Linked DNA regions of Homo sapiens: all the other regions are linked to region 1. Evidence: promoter capture Hi-C in 16 types of primary human blood cells and fetal thymus (Javierre and others, 2016). All regions are on one chromosome and are shown on one strand. Each heading gives the region's core, a stretch centred on a gene start or on the middle of the fragment in contact. The rest is flanking DNA. Distances are from core to core; before and after follow the strand shown.

What was found. Contacts are between HindIII fragments. The CHiCAGO score rates a contact against its expected background, and 5 or more counts as called.
Region 2: a contact is called between a fragment that was not itself captured here and the fragment with the promoter of POU4F2 in region 1, in 1 of 17 cell types (megakaryocytes). The highest score is 5.6, in megakaryocytes.
Region 3: a contact is called between a fragment that was not itself captured here and the fragment with the promoter of POU4F2 in region 1, in 4 of 17 cell types (naive CD8 T cells, total CD4 T cells, activated CD4 T cells and 1 more). The highest score is 5.9, in naive CD8 T cells.
Region 4: a fragment that was not itself captured here is called in contact with the fragment with the promoter of POU4F2 in region 1 in 1 of 17 cell types (erythroblasts); the score reaches 6.0 in erythroblasts.

The regions. Positions count from the first base shown.
Region 1 is chr4:146,637,494-146,640,335 of GRCh38, reverse strand. It overlaps POU4F2 (POU class 4 homeobox 2), which reads right to left and starts at 1,443. Exons shown (of 2, transcript NM_004575.3): 1 at 908-1,443; 2 at 1-469. The coding sequence starts at 1,195. RefSeq lists enhancers at 763-1,344, 1,345-1,925, 1,926-2,507, 2,508-2,842. The HindIII fragment of the contact is 9,518 bases long and covers 1-2,842 here.
Region 2 is chr4:146,908,354-146,911,217 of GRCh38, reverse strand. It overlaps TTC29 (tetratricopeptide repeat domain 29), which reads left to right. Exons shown (of 13, transcript NM_031956.4): 5 at 1,969-2,192. Among named protein-coding and RNA genes, the nearest start is that of TTC29-AS1, 24 kb to the left of the region's middle. The HindIII fragment of the contact is 4,949 bases long and covers 1-2,864 here.
Region 3 is chr4:146,324,364-146,327,239 of GRCh38, reverse strand. SLC10A7 (solute carrier family 10 member 7) reads left to right here. Exons shown (of 12, transcript NM_001029998.6): 6 at 1,244-1,279. Among named protein-coding and RNA genes, the nearest start is that of MIR7849, 83 kb to the left of the region's middle. The HindIII fragment of the contact is 219 bases long and covers 1,446-1,664 here.
Region 4 is chr4:146,228,991-146,231,869 of GRCh38, reverse strand. It overlaps REELD1 (reeler domain containing 1), which reads right to left. Exons shown (of 8, transcript NM_001354631.1): 7 at 2,782-2,845; 8 at 1-1,965. The coding sequence ends at 1,357. Among named protein-coding and RNA genes, the nearest start is that of REELD1, 16 kb to the right of the region's middle. The HindIII fragment of the contact is 1,168 bases long and covers 1,046-2,213 here.

The DNA of each region.
Region 1 (2,842 bases), core at 194-2,693:
CGTCCACGTCGCTCATGCAGCCCATGTGCGACGGCAGCCCGTGCGCGTGGGCCATGCTGAGCGCTGCTTGGTGCATGGGGTTCATGGTGGCCATGTGCGGCGCGTGAGCCGGCGTGGACACCACAGCGCCGTCGGGGCCCGCCATAGCGCCCAGGGCCAGCCCGGGACTCAGGTGCTCCAGCAGCTCGCCCTCCAGCGCCTGGTGCGGTTGGTGGTGGTGGTGGTGGTGATGGTGGTGGTGGTGGTGCGTGCCCGCCAACGCGGAAGGGTGCGAGATGGGCACCGATGAAGAAGAGGCGGCCGACGTGCACGGGATGGTATTCATAGTGTGGTAGGTGGCGTCCGGTTTGAAGGGGCTGTGGTGGGGTGGATGGTGGTGGTGGCTCTTGCTCTGGGAGACGATGTCCACGGCTGCCAGAGCCTCGGCGCGGGCCAGCAGACTCTCATCCAGCCCGCCGAATATATTGCTCTGCAATTGTAAGTAGAAGGCACACATTACGCTCAGCAGGGAATTGTACGCCCTCTCTCCGGAAGCCCCGGCCCAGGGCTCGACACCGTCGCCGCGCCTACAACATTCCCAGATCGTTAAAATAATAATAATAATAATCCTGAAAACAGAGGTGAAGAGAAAAAGAGGGAAGCCACAGAAAGAAGCCGAGAGTGCAGGAGGAGGAGGAAAGTGAGCCTGTAGACACAACGAAACACAACACAACACGCGCACAGGCAACATCCCAGGTCATAAAAATTAATATGAAAGGCAAGACCTGCTGAATACTTAAGAGAGAGAGAGGGGAAAATTGGTTGGAGGTGTGGGGTGATTTGCTGTGCAGACATGAAAAAAACATCAAGCAGATAAAGGGGGCTGTCAAAATGTGCCTTTAAGCGGTGATTATGCAGAAATACGCACCGGTGGGGTTGGAAGACAGGCTCTCCGCATAGCCTCCGAGCCCCCGCCGCCGCTGCTGCCACTGCTGCTGGAGCTGCTGCTTCGGCCTCCGCCGCCGCCGCCGCCGCCGCCGCCGCCGCCGCCACCACCAGCGTTGCTCGAGCTGCTGGGGGAGCTGGCCGAGGGCGCGATGGGAGCCGAGGAGCCCGGCGAGGTGCTGTGCAGTGCCGAGTACTTGGGCTCCACGTGCAGGCTGCCGCCGTGCGGCATGCTAAACGCCTGCTTGCTGTTCAGGGACATCATCATCATCTTCCCGCCCGCCGGGGCGCTGGTCCGTAGAGGCACTCACTGGTCCCGGCTGCCGGGACCCTCCGAGAAGTGCCGGGCCAGCCGGGGCTGGAGCTGGGAAGGGCTGTGCGAAGTTGAGCTCACCCGCCGCCGCCTCCGGACTCTGTACGCCTGATCTCGGCTACGCGCTCCTTCGCCGCCTCTGCTGTCAGTCTGAACGGATGCCTGACTCCGCTTGCCGCTAGCTGCAGACCTCGGCACCCGAAACTGCCCCCGCTCCTCGCGGCCGGCGAGTTATACTCCCCTCTCCCCGCGCCTACCCCCGCGCCCCCCGCCCTCCCTCTCTCCCTCTCTCCCGCGCGCCTCCGCCCTCCCTTGCCAGGAAACGCCGGCTCCTGTTCGGTTTCTCGCGTTGCCCCTTCTTCCTCTCTACTCCCCTCAGGCTTGAGTCCTTTCTGCTCTCTCAGCACTCGCCTCGCGCTCCCCCACCGCGCCCTCCGCCGCCTCTTTTCTGCCCCCGCCCGTGCTCTGTTGCCGCCGCCCCTTCGCAGCGTCCCGCGGCTGCTACTCACAATCGCGCCCCCACTCAACCCCACCCAAATGGCCAGGTCCGCGCTCCAGTCGCCGGGCAGTGCCTACCTAAGGACCAGCCTCCAGCCCCTCCCGCTTCTTCTGCCGGGTCTCTGTCTCACCGGAAAAAGAAACTCCCAAATAAAGTTGCGGCCCAAGCCAGCGTTGGGTAGGTAAGAGTGCCTCTTACCTGGCTGCCACCTCCTACGCCTCCTGCTTACCACTAAGTTCCAGGCTTCCAACCCCACTCGGCCCGCCCCCACCCCGTCAGCTCAGGTGACCCTGATCCCAGGTTCCCGGCCACCGCTGAGAACACAGACGTTGCGGCCAACCCGGGTTCTGCGCGCGGCTCTGAACTCCCAGCCCAATACGAGCGGAGGTCGGCGTTCGGCTACGAGCCCCCCACGGCCCGGCGGGTGCCTGGTGCCAAAGAGACATGGGGTCGGAGGGGCTGCAGGGCTTTCTCTCACTCGATTTCTCGCAGCTCTCAGCGGATTGGACAGCCGCGGAGCAGGCTCGGGTCGTCTGTGCGCATGCGACTCCTCCCCCTCCCCGCTGTCCCCACCCCTCCCACAACACACACACACATACACACAGGCACACACACACGCTCCTCTTGCCCCCCTTTTCTCTTCCTCCTCCTCCCTGTATCCAGTACAGTTCGAGTTGAGTCTTGGAAGGATCCACTGGCAAACCCTGCCCCTGGATTTATTATTCTTCATTAGCCACAATCAAAGGAAGAAGGGGCAACTGACAGGGAGAGGGAAGGTCAGAAATTACACAGCGCATATGCTGCTGAATACACCCCACAACACAGACACACACACACACACCCTCGGGGGCTGGCACAAACCTCACTTATCTTCATTTCCACAGCCTCTCGGTGCGGAGCCTATTTTTAGCTGACACTTCACTCCCACTTCTGTCCCAGTCCCAGTGCAGACCACTTTTCCTAGAGATGGACACACACTCTTGGTTCCAGTTGCAAAAGGAGATAATCTCTTTCTATCTATCTCTCTCTCTCTGTCACACACACACACACACACACACACACACACACACACTACTTCCTCTCCTTCTGGATCCCATTTTCTCTAT
Region 2 (2,864 bases), core at 222-2,721, 270 kb before region 1:
CTATACCATTCATGGGCTGTGGGCAATTACAGGGTTGGTTCTGGTCCTCTTCTGCCTAGAAGTGCTATGCAGGGACTTTTGCTGCCTTTGCATGCCCTTGCGTATAGGGAGGTGGGGAGAGGGATGTTGGTAATCCTCCCTGCCTTCAATAACCCTAGATGGGAAGCAGGATATGAGTGTTTTCTACTCTTGGCTCTCACTGCATTTCACAGGATGTTGACTTTTCTACTCTCTGAGCCCCTCCATTTGACTGGAGTGAGAAAGAGAAAGAGAACATGGCCCTCCAAGCATCTCACTGCCTTTCTCCATACTTTTCTCCTCTATCGATCGCAATTGGAGGACAGGAATAAGTAACAAGCACTATTCCTTTTCTCTTCCCCATTTCAAATATATCTTATTCTCATACTAAATGTTGGCATTTGATCTTTTGACCTAGGATCCATGTGGTCTCTTTATTCTCTTTACGAACTAGTTCTGTAACAACCTGACTGCCATATAGGGGAAGGTTGCGGTTCAGCTGGGACACTTCTTCCAGATGACTTTTGTAAAATGCAGTCTCGTCATGTCAGTTCCCTGACTCTGATCTCCAATAGCTCTACCTCCCTCCCAGCTTGGAGTCCAAACTTCTCACTGTTGTTTTTACCGTAAGATCTCTTCATGATCTGGTCCCTGCCTTTTTTTCTAAACTTCCTGTCTCACCACTCTCCTGCTTGCCACTCCTCATTTGTTTGTTCTCTACCTAAGTTGATCCAATGGATAAGAAATCCTTGGTAGATGCAAGTCTAGTCACTTTGTTTTGTTTTGTTATTTGTTTGTTTTTTTGAACTCTGTAGGTGAATCTAATGCATAATGAGGAATTGAGAAGCAGCAGTGAGATTTCACATTTCCCAGAGTATTCTCACATACCTAATTTCATTTGGTTCCTAGAGGAATCCCATGATGTAGGTAGCATATACTAATATACACAGCTTAGAGATGAGAAGACTGGAGACCCAGGGAGGTGAGGCAAAACTGGACTCAATCTTGGTGGTCTGGGCTGTTTCCACTCCACGGTGAATTTTTGTTGCCAGTAGTATCACATCATGTCGTTTGTCCTATTTTTTTTTAAAGAATATAATATAATTAGTATAAAGCTATATCTTTTGGTATCTAATTGTTCTTTTAATGGAATAATAGCCACTACACAGCTATTATCTCACAATTCTGTTTATTTCCTTTCTAGAAATTTTCGTGATTTGAAATTATTTCTCATTTGCTTACTTATTTGTTAGTCATGTTCTGCCCCTAGAATGTAAGCGTCACAAGGGTATGGAATCTATTTGGTCTAGAACAGCGCCTGGCACTTAGTAGGAAACTCAGCACCTATTTGTCGCTTGACTAAATGGAATATTCATTTGTCACTTTATCTTTTTGCATTTGATTATTGAAGTGAGAATATAATTATTAATCATTAACTTAATTCTAACTGAAAGTAATTAAAAAATATATAGTTAGTAATAGATTTCAATAAATATTTTCTGCATGAATGAAAGAATGATGAACTTCTGTAACATACAGTGAAACTACTAATATAGAGAGAATATTGTTTTGATATTAAATGGCAAGTTTTATTTTTGCTTGACTTGTTGAGGTTTTTTTTGGTGGGAGGCTGATATATCAAGTATTTTTTAATATTCATCAGTCAACTAGCTTATTTGTCCTTATCAAATGGAGCTCAGCTCTGGAACTGATATGTTTATAATGTAATTTCATTAAAATTACTGTGTTTAGATAGCTCCTGGCATCTTTCATTAAACAGAAGTTGTTCAATTATAAGTGTTTGAGGCAAAGATCTTTTGATAGTTTTCAGTGCTTTCACTGAGGGATAAAAGGCAACATGATTCAACCTTTAATTATTAGAGAATGAAAATACCGTGCAGACTGAAAGGATTAACATAAACCTGAGAGTGTTCTGATTCATATTTCCAGTTATAGGAACTCCTACAAGAAGAATATCTGTGTGGACATGCTGCGAGATGGTTATCATAAGTCCTTCACCGAGCTCTTCGCTCTGATGGAGCGGTGGGATGCCCTGAGGGAGGCTGCGAGAGTCAGGTCCCTCTTCTGGCTGCAGAAGCCCCTGGAGGAGCAGCCTGATAAACTGGATTACCTGTACCATTACCTGACCAGGGCTGAGGACGCTGAGAGGAAAGGTAAGTGGTGGGACTGTGGGCAGAGCACAGAAGGAGCCAGAACACCGAGCTCCTGGGGGAAGATTCCAGATTGTTTCATGTATGAATTTGAAACATTAAGACAACTTAGCACACTTCAACCCAGTCAATTAAACGTCTTTATGGAATTAAGGAAAGGGAATGTTGGATCACGAGGCTGCCCAGACACGGGGGCATTCTGGTGATGTCCTTCCGAGCCAGGGAAGACAACACATAGCACCTAATAATATCTCCAGAACTTCCCCCATGAATTAACATAGTTCCTATCATTAGGTTTAAACCTTTCTACAGTTTTTCTGTATACGTAATCTGAATATTGACTTTCATAGAGGAGATACTTTCAAAGAGTACTATAACTTGAAAATCACACTGATTTTCCTAAGTTTAGATAGTGGACTTTGAAGTTTGGGTCAAGAAGTCCTACTGATTTGAATCAGAGAATTTATCTTTGTAAATAGTAAAAAGACATGAAAATCCTGCAATTCACAATTGCAAATAAAATTGTCAATTTTATATTTTCCATGACATCATTTCTAATACATTTTTTGTATTTCAAAATTTTCCAGAAAGTTAGTATACATTCCAAGTATTAAATATTTTCATTTCTACACTAATTATACTGATATTGTTGTCATAAATATTTCTTAGTTACAT
Region 3 (2,876 bases), core at 306-2,805, 310 kb after region 1:
ATAACAAAACAAGTCTGTCTGTGGATATTCACATGTGTATATGCCCCAGAAAGTCATGGTAGCATTGTTCATTTAAGGTAAGCCAGTCCCTCTTGGGCCACATGCAAAACACTTGAGTGACTGTTATGACACAGGGACTTTCATGTAAATACCAAAAGGACTTTTTTTCTTCCAAAAGTAATGAAGTAGTCCCAGATCTGGATCTTGGACACTGTCTGGATATATAGTACCTCTGTCTATCTGTCTCTCTCTCTCTCTCTCTCTCTTTTTCTGTGTGTGTGTGTGTGTGTGTGTGTGTGTGTGTGTGTGTGTGTGTGTGTGTCTGTCCCTCTCTTTTCTGTCTTAGGCACGCACAACCTCAGATTCTCTGAAATTTTAAAATTCCAAGTAGAATTCATTAATAAAAATCTGAAATGTTTTTTCTGGTATAAATCATAATGAAATGTTGAGAGACAAAGGAAAAACTAAAACGGGCAAATAATCATCTGCTGCTCCAAAACTGAAGCCTGTCATTACAACTCCCAACTCAAACACTTAGTTTTAAAGATTTGCCTTCAAGAAACCTAAAAGCTGGTATTCTGCCTCATTGGCAACAGCCTCAAACTGTTCCCTGTCATCGAAGAAAACAAATCTTTTGCTCATTTCTGCCTAGGGGAGGCAGAGGGACCGAGGTGGTCCTATGTGGCTGAATTAGATGAAAGACTTGCCTTCCACCATGGAGACATGAAGTCTAATCAAGTGAAATGAGTTTTGAGATCCCAGCTCATTTCCTAGGGGAGACCAGTTCACATTACAAAATCATGACATCTCATTCATCACAACTGACGTGGTCTTTGCTCAGGAGAGGACCCCAACTGGGACTAAACCACCTGTCTTCTCTCAAAAAGGGGCATTTTATCCAAGTTAGAGTTGAAAGCCTTGGAGTGAGGAAGCTTGCCAGCCACCAGCTTCTATCTGTATGATCCACGTGCAATGTGGAAGGGAATTTAGGTTTACAAAAGGAAAGATGAACCTAAGGCAGATTGGTGGTTGTGCTTTCAGGCTGCCAAATACAAATAATTGTAATAGAGATGTTATTATGGAAGAGAAAGCTAAGATTGGGACTCTCCCCTCTTTATCTCCTAGATTTTATTAAACAGCAGTGAGAAGATAAGCACTCCTATGCCTCAGAGTTTAAAATGGCAAAGAAAGTGTCCTGCTTTCCAGGCTGATAAATGATCATCCTCTCTTTTATTTCTTTCAGGGCATCGTTATAACACCCCTGCTCCTGCTGCTTTTTGTGAGTATTTTGATGTTGTCTTTAATATATTTTATTAAAAGCTATCTACAACCCTTTAAGAAAGGTCATTAGAACAAAAATGAAATTTGAATTATTTTGCACCATATTTGGAATTGTTGTTCCAGTTTAGCTGTACCGCATAATAATATTCAGATACGAAGAAGCTTCATAATTTCATGATCCAAGAACAGGATCAGGACCCAGTCATTAGGCCTCCAGCTCCTGGCTAAATCATTATATTACAAATAAATGACCCCATGACACAGGTTACAAAAACTGCGCTGCTCTTTATTTTCTCATTAGTAAAACTAAAGTGATTGATAGTGACCCAGTGTTTGATAGTGTTTAACAGAAAGAGCCCTAGGACCAGGGATCAGAGGAAGCTTGGGTTCCAAGGCTGATACTGATGATAACTAGCTTCCTCACCTTGGGGAAGGCTGCCTCAATTTTTTTCATCTGTAGAATGGGAAGTAACACCTCCTCCATTCTATCGCCCAGAGATAATGAAAGGTGCTTTAAAAATTAAAAATACAAATCAATACACGCTTCTAGTTAACTAAACAAAAACTGTTCTGAAAACAAGAAATGCTAATTAGCTGTCTTATTTCTTTTGGCACTAAGCATATGAGAAATTAGATGAAAGATTATAATAGAAATTAATGTTATCTCATGCTGAGCAAGGCATATGTAATCATGAATGATACCTAAAATATTTTATGAACTGTGCATCTTTTCATACACACATCTTCCAAATATAAATCACTCTGCTTATCACTGAAATGTAGTGGGGATGTGTTTCTGGGAATGTAATGTAGCTGTTTGACTAACACTATTTATCAGTGAATTAAAACTATGGGGAAAATTTATTTAATTGTAGTATAATTACCCAAGTTGGAATTCAATTAGAGTAATAGAATGAGGGACTTCATTTCTTACCCGCTGAGTAGGAAATAGGGAGGGATAGATATACTACTAAACAGTTGGATTCCACATCTTTCATGAAAGACATTACCTTCAAGTAATAAACCTCATCCTTACCCTCCCTTTTGAAATGCTGGCTCCATTTTGACAAGGTAAGAAGAGTCAAATAATCAGATCACTTTCCTCAGCATAACAAACTTCATTGACATGGACTTCACCAACGCAGAATTTTCAGTTAGTTAAATTGAAACCAAAGAGACTATTTGCATTAATTTGGAAGAAAAGACTTATTATGTAACTACCTGCTACTAGATGTGAGAAACTGGAATCATCCATTAGTTTATTTCCAAGACCTGGGATCACAGGACAGTTTCCCAGATGCAACCCTTGGTGGGCACAGGATGCAGGCCTGTCTGAGGTCCCCACTTGCAGTAGGTCAAGGGACTAGTATAGAGCTCAGCATCTGGTAAGTGCACAATGAATGGCTGCATCACCTGGGTTTTCTTCATTATGGAAGAGAGACATCTCTTACTCATGTAACTCATTTAAGAAGAGCGGGGGAGATGTTACAGCCACAATTAGGTGGCTGAGGCCTAGGTTGTAACATCTTGGAGTATCTCAGAGGCTGGAATCTCTGAGACCCTTTTTTGACTTGTGATTAAAGAACCAAAGAGTT
Region 4 (2,879 bases), core at 380-2,879, 410 kb after region 1:
AGAGAGTCTTGGAATTGATGACCAATGAGCTAAAGCGAGGTGTGGAAAAGGCAGGAGCTGTCTCTTTCCTGAACACTCAATTTTTAAAAATTGTTAAATTGAGGTATAAGGAAAGCCTCATTCTCCTTGGAAAGCTACTGAACTTATTCCTCATTAAATTTTTGTGAGAGTTAAATGTGAAGATATACGCAAACTACTTAGCACAGTTCCCGTATGAATTAGGTGTTCAATAAACAAATATCCTTTCCGAATTTGTAGTGATTTTTGTTTCTGCATTAAAATGATGACTCTATAATAGGTTTCACTCTGAAAAGGCAGCTAATTCCTATGTGCTATATTAGGTGAGCATATTTAAGAGTTATATTCAGATCTGTTGTTTTGACCTCAGATAGTATCTGTGGAGCCACTGTTAAATCAAAGCAATCTTCATAAGGTTATGAGATCAGGTAGATGACCTTCATCCATGAAGCTTTCTTCCTGATATTCCCTGAAAAGACAAGTAAAGACTGTTCTTCAAACTATGCTGGTATAATAATGTTTTTCAGCCTGACCTTTGGCAAAAGGCACTATGTCTGCTAGCTGTTGGGATACACGAATGTTTCCATCAAGTGTAAATGGATGGGAGGTCTCAGATCCATTTACACCTGATGAAAAGGCTTTCTTACCCCACTCTGGTGTTTACGGCCTTGTGTTGCATGTATATGTTTTCCTGAAGATGTGTTCAATCAAGCTCTCAAAAACTTTCCTGACTTTGGATCAATTTCCATGGCGGATTTGCCAGGCTGCTGAGTTGCCCAGAAGACCAAATACCCTTGCATTCACCTAGTCATCCAAATCAGAACTCTAGCAAGTTGTTGAATTCAGTTTTGAAAAGAAAACTTCTTTGGGGGTGGTTTAGGAAGGCAAAGTGAGAGCTGCAGTTCTTTTTCTTGCAGGAGACACAACCCAACATTACTTTTTTTCCCCAAAGAGTTAGAAGAGATGAGACACTAAGGAGGGACAGTATTTTTATTTCTATGGCTTCCTTACCACAACAGAGGAAGCTTAGTGGCCACAGGGGTCTAGTTAATGAGCGGGTTATACAATATTCATTGTGTTGAGTTTAAGTCTTCAAACAGAACGTCTAATTGCAAAAAGAAAGAAGGAAGCCCAATTACAGATGTTAAGACAACAAAGCTCAGGAATAACTCCCTCTGTTGATGAAAGTGTCCTCTCCCGGGTTCCTCCACTAACTGCACATTGACAGAGGCACAATGAGTCCCTGTCTTCATCAGTTATTCTCATTATCTCTGCTCTGTCTGGGACACTCTCCAGGGCCCAAGGAGGGCCACTGAGAGGTCTGGGGTGACAGTCTTCTCAGAGGACTGTTTTCTTGCTACCCACAGAAGGAGTGATCCAGTTGTACTCTGCTTGAACCAAAACAAAACTGTTCTCCCCAATCTTCCTGACGTGCACAGTCTCACCACTGTTGCTCCTGGCAACAGCATCCGAAGCGGGCTCACTGAAAGACACTTCTGTCTGCTGGTGGCAATACTGGGTGTGCAGGTAGCGAAGGCCAGCGGCCAGGGCCATGCCCAGGGTGGCTGACAGGCAAAGCAGAATTCCCAGCTGAGGAGTTCTGAGCTGGATACCCAGAGGGGCCTGGGCTCCCTCTAGCCCAATGTCAGGCCGTGGGTTGGTCTGCCGAGGGTATCCCACTCCACCCTCTCCATTTCCCTTCCCTGCTCTGAGCTCCTTGTGCTTTGACTGAGGTAAGAAGCTGGCAGAGGCCCTGGATGCCTCTGACTGGTCACCAGCAGCAGGTAGCCCAGAAGTGCCAGAGGTCTGGAGGACAGGGATTGGGTTGCTTGCCCTGACCCCATTCCCTGTGAAAGTTTCAGAGGACCAGAGGCACTGGGGATAGGTAAGCTGGACGGTGGACAGAGGAGGCTGTGTCACGGTCCTGTTAGAGGCCTTCGTCTTGTCCTAGAAAAACAAAGGGAAAAAAGAGTCAAAGGTACTGGTCTTCCTCCTAAGCTGCCACTGAACTTTGTAACTAACTGGGGTTCCTTAAAGACTCCCAGGAGGCAGCTAAAAACCCAGTCTCTTTCTTGCTACTAAAGGAGCTCAAAGTAAAATGCCCAACTAGATACAAATGCACTTGTTATTGATGGGGATGGGGTAGCTAATGGAAACCCCACAGAGAACAAGGAAGCCAGTTACAAGAATAAGCTTAGGGTCCTTTAAGTGGCTTCCAAACCAAAATATCAATGGGTGATTGCATCATCTTCTATGGCTGAGAGATTTGAGTGTGTCTTCTTATGATAGGACCCATGCAAGAGGGACCATTTAACCTCACTGTAGGTTCTGAGAAATGTAAGTAAGAACATTACACCTTGTTTTATTTTGTGTTCCTTCTAAGACTTCAAAGGAATAGTAAATCAGTGGGCATTTATATTTTATATTGACCATTGATCTAACTTCTGGGACCATACATGGCATTTTGAGGTCAATGTTATGAAGGAGGGATAGAGGAGGAGAGAAGAGAGTAATTATTAACTGTGGCTAAGTGAGAAGACAAGTCACTAAAACATCAATTTCTACAATTGCCGATCACTTCAGAGACACTGCATATAATGGAAAGGTATTGATTAGTAGAAAGACACTGTGTGTATATTGTACTTTGCCTTCTTCTCTCTAACTTTGGCTACTAGTCTAATAGCTCTGATTTCCCAGCCTGAAACTGACCATTCTAGGATCAAAATACCAGTCACAAGCCCACTTCACAGTTCAGGTTCTTACCTGTTCACCCCCATCTGAGGACAGGCAAGTTTCCAGTGAATCAAAGCTGGGATCATCCTGAGTTCTAAAGGGAAGAATGGAAGGGCTGAAAACAGGTC